2 separate regions of the Homo sapiens genome follow, and region 1 is linked to region 2. The links are contacts of gene promoters, found by promoter capture Hi-C in blood cells and fetal thymus (Javierre and others, 2016). All regions are on one chromosome and are shown on one strand. The core of a region is centred on a gene start or on the middle of the fragment in contact, and the rest is flanking DNA. Distances in the headings are between cores, read along the strand shown.

Region 1 (3,374 bases), core at 664-3,163, 930 kb after region 2:
CGTAATCTCGGCTCACTGCAAGCTCCGCCTCCCGGGTTCACACCATTCTTCTGCCTCAGCCTCCTGAGTAGCTGGGACTACAGGCGCCCGCCACCACACCCAGCTAATTTTATGTATTTTTAGTAGAGACGGGGTTTCACCATGTTAGCCAGGACGGTCTCGATCTCCTGACCTCGTGATCTGCCTGCCTCGGCCTCCCAAAGTGCTGGGATTACAAGCGTGAGCCACCGTGCCCGGCCCAGACCAATGTTTAAAGGCACCACGGAGAGAGGTGATTCTACGTGACATGGCTTACGAGGGCCTCACCCAGGAAGAGGCCCACAAATGCCTACCTTAGGGCTTTTTCAAACTGTGGGTCTCAAGCCATTAGTGGGTCATGAAATCAATTTATTGGTTTGCAACCAGCATTAAAAGAAGGGGAAAAAAGCAGTCTAAAAAGTGTCAGGATGAATTGGATACAGTGATCTTAAAAATGTTTCGTTAAACTTTGTTTTGTTTAACATGTGGGGCCCTGGTTATGATGTAAAATATAGTTAACTGCAGACAATATTCAAATAAAAGGACGAAAACAGTGTTCTCTCTCTTTCATGCCTCTGCTCTTCAACCAAGCCTGACCTGTTCTTACCTCAGGGTAGCTGCATTTATATTATTCTGCCGGGACAGCTCTAGCCCACTTCTTCACAAGATTGGTTTTTGTTTTTTTTTTTTTTTTGAGATGGAGTCTGGCTCTGTTGCCCAGGCTGGACTGCAGTAGTGCAATCTCAGCTCACTGCAAGCTCCACCTCCCAGGTTCACGCCATTCTTCTGCCTCAGCCTCCCGAGTAACTGGGACTACAGGTGCCCACCAACATCCCCGGCTAACTTTTTGTATTTTTAGTAGAGACAGGGTTTCACTGTGTTAGCCAGGATGGGGTTTCTTTCTTTTGAGACAGTCTTGCTCTGTCACCCAGGCTGGAGCACAGCGGTGCTATCATGGCTCACTGCAGCCTTGACCTTTCAGGCAAGGGATCCTCCTGGTTCTGCCTCCCAAGTAGCTGGGACCACATGTATACACCACTATACATGGCTAATTTTTTTTTAATTGAGATGGGGTCTCACTATGTTGCCCAGGATGGAAGGCTGGTTTCTTCTCTGGTCCCAACTCAAATGTCACTCTGTGAAAGGCCTTTCTTGAGTACTCCATTCAGAGGTTGCCTGCTGCCTGCTTGTGTGGTCTGCAAGCTAAGAAGGGCGTTTTTTTTTTTTTTTGAGACGGAGTCTCGCCCTGTCACCCAGGCTGGAATGCAGTGGCAGCGATCTCGGCTCACTGCAACCTCTGCCTCCAGGGTTCAAATGATTCTCCTGCCTCAGCCTCCCCAGTAGCTGGGATTACAGGTGCACGCCACCACACCCGACTAATTTTTGTATCTTTAGTAGAGACGAGGTTTCACCATGTTGGTCAGGCTGGTCTTGAACTCCCGACCTTGTGATCCGCCCACCTCGGCCTCCCAAAGTGTTGGGATTACAGGCGTGGGCCACTGCACCTGGCCAAGAATGGCTTTTAAGCTTTTAAACGGTTGGAAAAAAAAAAAACTAAAGAAAAATTTTTCATATGGAAAAATATGAAATTCAAATTTCAGTGCCTATAAAGTTTTATAGAAACATAGCCATACTCATGTATTTGCCTATGGGGTACGGCTGCTACTACAATGGCAGAGTTCAGTAGGTGCTTCAAAGATTGTATGTTGCAAAAAGCTTACTTACCATCTGGCCCTTTGCAGAAACAATTCATCAACCCCTGTTCTACTATAATCATTACCGCATAACTGTTTTCATTACCTTCAAGTCCTTCCTATGACCTAAAATTCTAGTCTATTGTCTTCATTTACTTATTCTTCCCAACTAGAATATAAATTACAAGAGGCCAAGGGCTTTGCCTATCTCTGCCTCTGCTGTATCCCCTGTGCCAAGCACAGTGCCTGAAACACAATAGGTGCTCAGTAAGTGCCTGAATGAAAGAACGGTGGAGGTGGAAGGCAAGCAACTAGGCTTAAGGACCACTGGGGGCTGCATCAGCCACCACTGCCTAAAAGGCGGGGGCCCAGGAAGCTTGCTAAGTACCAGGAACCATGCTCTCCACCAATTTTTGAAGACCTTGCTCACCCGAAGAGTCTTCATCCACGTTCTCGTACTGCAGAAGTCGGTCTAGGAGGAAACTGAGGGGAGGGAAGGAGACACGGACAGTGATTTTCCAGCGCAGCAATGTCCTCCTGGGTACCTGTCCCTCCCAGCTGGCCCATCGGATACTTGAAAGAGCCCATGCACTTGTGGCCCTACTCGGGGATGGGGTCCGAATGTAGATTTCCTAGGAAGCACATCGCCCTCCGCCCCTGCAACGTGCCTCACCTCTTGTCCCGGGACACCTTCAGTAATTTCCTTTGCGCTTTCCTCAGCTCCTCCTGGAAGCACTCGTGCTCCTGTATCACGGGCAAGGGGTGCGCTGGGCCAACGGTCCTCCGTGAAGGGCCCCGGAACCAGCGGCCGCTCGCCCCACCCACTTTACACCTGGGTAAACTGAGATCTTGTCCGCGCCAGGCCTCATCCCCCACAGCCTTCCCGCGGCAGCACTCACGTAGATGAGGAACTTGAGCTTCCGCTTCAGATTCCGGTATTTTTTTTTGTAGTCCACTTCGCCGTCCGCCGGCCCGTTCATGACCGGCCCGGGAGTGGCGCCCAGAGTCTGCCCTCCCGCTACCCCAAGCAGTGGCTGCCGTGCCGCTCCCGCCTCCACTTCCGGAGACGCTGCAAGGCTGTGCCGTCAGGACTACAACTCCCGGCGTACCCCGCGCTCAGGGGCGTCACCGCACGGGCCGACCTCCCGGGGGACACTGGGACAGGAGCGCGGCAGCCACTGCGCTGGGGATGGCGTAGCAGCGACGCGGTGACGCCACAAAAATGGCGGACGCTGGAAAGCGCCGTTCCTGACTCTAATGTACTTAGACACTTGAAGCCACAAAAGGATTTATCCCCGAGGTTCCTCATCTGCTCGCGAGGATGCCTTTTCTCTTCTGCCTTGCGAAATAACAGCAGCCTAGCTGTTGCCCGTGACCAGTGAGAAAGGCAGCGTCGCGGGCTGATTAGGTTTCACCCAAAGGGTGCCGGCGCCGAATTGGTTTCTAACGAGAACTTTTAAAATGATCCGTTCCAAAAAAGGGTAGGAGCCGCGAGACCCTCCAACTGCCCAGAGAAAACAAGTCTCGTCTGGCAAAGTTCTCGGCCCACGCGGTCCGCGGCCAAGGGCCAACGGTCCCTCGCCCCACGTTGCCGCAGCACTGCGCGTGCGCGAGCCGCTGTCAAACGCGCTGACGGAGGCCGAGAAGAAAAAAAGGCGGGAG
Region 2 (3,141 bases), core at 396-2,895:
TCAGTCCTAGGACCCCCAGCTTCCCGGGCTGCTTTCATCCCTAATCATCTAGAATCCCTTGGGCTCCCCCTCCCATGGAAACCAGATCCTCCAAGATCCCATGTGGAATTAGAAGCCTGGAGGGTCTCTTCCCAGTCAGTCTTACCCCAGATTCCCCCTTTCCGGGGACTTTCATACCCATCCATGGGGCTAAGGGGCCCTCCAGCGCTCCAGGGGAGGGGCCTGGAGGGCGGCGACTGCAGGCGGGGGTGGGGGCTTTCAAGGGGAAGCAGGGTCTAGGAAGGAGGGCCAGTTCCCCAGGGTGGAGAGGTCATAGGAAGGAGGGCTGGAGATGAGTTTGGAGTAGAGAGAGGGTGAGGCTGGGGGCGGGGAAGGTAGAGAGAGGCCGGGCTGAGGATGAATGGGAGTGGGCGCTGCCCAGGTCTGGGGGTGAGGAGGAGCCGCATGAACCCACCTCACACGTGTCCCGGGAGCCATCTCTCCCTTCTCGGCAGCTCCCGGCGGGTCGGCGGCCATCGGCGGCGGGGGGGCCGGGCGGCGCGGGGCGCGGAACGCTCAGAACGCCGGGGTCCACGGCCCCCCGAGGGCGCTCGGCCCCTCCCTCCGGCGGAGGCCGGGACGGCGGCGAGTGGAGATGGGGGGCGCCGGGGGCGAGGCCCTCCCACGGGCTGCGGCGCGGCCCTTCCAGGGGGAGGTCCTGCTCTGGGAGGCTCAGTCCCTCAGCCCCCCCAGGCCAACGGGGGCTCCTTGGGCGCAGGGTGCTCAGCTTCTGCCCGGGGCCCACTCAGTCCCGGGTCCGAGTCCCAGCTCCCCTCCCCCCACCCCGCCCCGCCTCTCCCCAGCGCCCCTGGCCCTTTAACTGGCCCCTTCCCGGACCCCACTGCCCAGGGGTCCAGTGCCAGGCCTGGGCCCCCCCCACCGTTTCCGGGGTTCAAGCCCGCCCACCGCCGGTTCCCGGGGAGGGGGGGGTCGCTGTAACCTGCCCCCCTCCCCTGGGCCCGCCCCTGGACTGCGACCCCCTGCCCTACGGCTGCGAGGCGAGCGGAGGGGGAGGTGAAGGAAGCTGCTCCGGCCCCGCCCCCCCCAGCCCGCGCGCACCCCCGACCTCTCCCCCTCCCCCAAGCGCGCGACCCTCGGGAGATAGGGATTTAAATAAAATTTGAATAAATCCCCCTCCTCAAGCGGGAGGGTGGAAGGAAAGGATAGAGGGGGAGAGGGAAAGGGGAAGGGGGCAGTTGGGGTGTCTCAGCCCCCCTGGTCCCCCAGCCCCGCGCTGCTACGGCCCGGGGCCCTGGCCGCCTCTCTCATCCCTCCTCAGCTCCTTCCTCCTTCCTCCTCTCTTCCCCCCTCCCCTCCCCTCCCTCCTCCTTCCCTCCTCCTCCTCCTCCTCCCCCTCTTTACTCCCTCCTTCTCCCAGAGGAACCCCGCCCCCTTCCCCCTCCTTCCTCCACCACCTCCACTTTCCAGGACGAACGCACGCAGGGCTCGACGGGAGTTGTAGTCCTGCGGCCACTGATGCTACGGGGGAACAATAGGACGCTGGGGACAGCGGGAACTACAAACAGGACGGCGGAGGGCGTGCCCAGCCGGGAGCCGAGGATGCCGGGAGTTAGAGTCCCGTTGCCCCGAGGCTCCCAGTTGCAGAACATCGAGAAGGAGAGGGAACGATGACTACAAACAAGATGGCCTTCTCCCCCGACCCGACCTCCTTCCCAGGCACTCACACGCCCTCCTGTCCACAACCCTCCGCGTGTGTGGTACCTGACGGGAGTCGCAGTCCATCTGCTGCCTTCCCGCTGCCATTTCTACTCGTCAGGAACAATGGAAAGGTGAAAAGGAAAGAGGACTACAAGCAAGATGGCGGAAGAGGGACATACACCTGACTAGTAGTCGATCTTACGAGGTGCGATGGGATTAGTAGTTTTATAGCCTTCCAGTGTTCCTTAAGAATGGCGGAACCAGGAGGACGAGGAGACTACCGTAAAGATGGCAGGCTACCTAGCCTCTCCCGGTCTCCGCTTTCCACCACCTTGGGCACCTCGCCCGCCTGTGGTCTCGAAATCCCCCCCACCAGTGGCGCACGGCCTGACGGGAGTTGCAGTCTCCCGGCTCCCGTCTATCATCTCAAGTCGAGACAATGGAAGGGGATGGGGCGGGGCCACCGGCAAAGATGGCGGCTGCAGGGCCGGGGCGACTGCGACATGGGATGTGTAGTCCAGGCGTCTGGCCTCTTCCCTGCGGAAATGAGGGAGAGGACTACGAAAAAGATGGCGACCTCGCCCCTCGACCTCTGCGCCGGTGCCTGCTGGGAAATGTAGTTCCTTGCCGAGTCCAACAGAGAAAGGACGTCGCTGTTGAAATGTGAATCCCGGCGGACACGCCAAATTGCGAGGCGACGGAAACGGAAAGACTCTTTTCTCCTCTCTCCGCCACCGGCTTCTGAACAGCCTGGCGGGAAATGTAGTCCCAAGCTTTCACTCGCGAGTGGAGGGGAAGGATTTATGTCACCAGTGGGGATCAGTGCGGGTGGGGGAGAAAAACGTCGGGCGATCCGGGAATAAAGAATGTCCGCCTCTCCATGGGGCGAGGACTTCGCGTTTCAGGGGAGGGCCCTTAAAGGAAGGCAGCAGGAATCAGTCTTGTCGAACAGGGGGGCGTGGTTCTCGTCGAGAGTGCATTCACACTCTTGTTCCCTAGAAAGCCTGGGCACCTCCCACTCGATTCCTGCTCCTCAGACCTCCGGGAATCAGTGTCTTACAAGACGTGCGGGCTCCGGGGAAAAGGACCTGGAGTCACAGCGAATCCCCGCCCCGCCCCGGGAAGCCACCAAACCTTGCTTTTTCTCATCTGCAAAATGGGGACAATGGGGATAATGATCCCCACCTCGAAGCACAGTTGTGAGTGTTAAACAAGCCAATGTTCTTGTCACCAAAGTGCCCAACTCTGGCACGGGGCACGCGGTGGTAGATCCCTTTCTAAGGTCCCTTCCAGCCCAGCCGTTCTGGGAGCCCAGGAATCCATGATGCCGGACAGAGTTCGCTCCTGTGAGAAGAAAACTGACCCGCAGGCTCCTCCCAGATTGAACCGACCCCCGCCCCTCCTCATCGGGGTCCTCCAGCGTCTGTTACCGAGCACTGCTCC

Evidence for each region. Contacts are between HindIII fragments. The CHiCAGO score rates a contact against its expected background, and 5 or more counts as called.
Region 1: a contact is called between a fragment that was not itself captured here and the fragment with the promoter of FBXL19-AS1 in region 2, in 2 of 17 cell types (non-activated CD4 T cells and fetal thymus). The highest score is 8.9, in non-activated CD4 T cells.

Annotation. Positions count from the first base shown.
Region 1 is chr16:29,995,629-29,999,002 of GRCh38, reverse strand. INO80E (INO80 complex subunit E) reads right to left here and starts at 2,762. Exons shown (of 7, transcript NM_173618.3): 1 at 2,612-2,762; 2 at 2,386-2,456; 3 at 2,143-2,195. The coding sequence starts at 2,692. It also overlaps a transcript of HIRIP3 not described here. RefSeq lists enhancers at 2,679-2,808, 2,869-3,038. The HindIII fragment of the contact is 354 bases long and covers 1,737-2,090 here.
Region 2 is chr16:30,921,773-30,924,913 of GRCh38, reverse strand. FBXL19-AS1 (FBXL19 antisense RNA 1) reads left to right here and starts at 1,645. Exons shown (of 1, transcript NR_024348.1): 1 at 1,645-3,141. It overlaps FBXL19 (F-box and leucine rich repeat protein 19), which reads right to left and starts at 1,342. Exons shown (of 11, transcript NM_001382779.1): 1 at 455-1,342. RefSeq lists enhancers at 1,424-1,583, 1,624-1,713, 1,336-2,303, 1,744-2,563, 2,304-3,141. The HindIII fragment of the contact is 5,738 bases long and covers 1-2,473 here.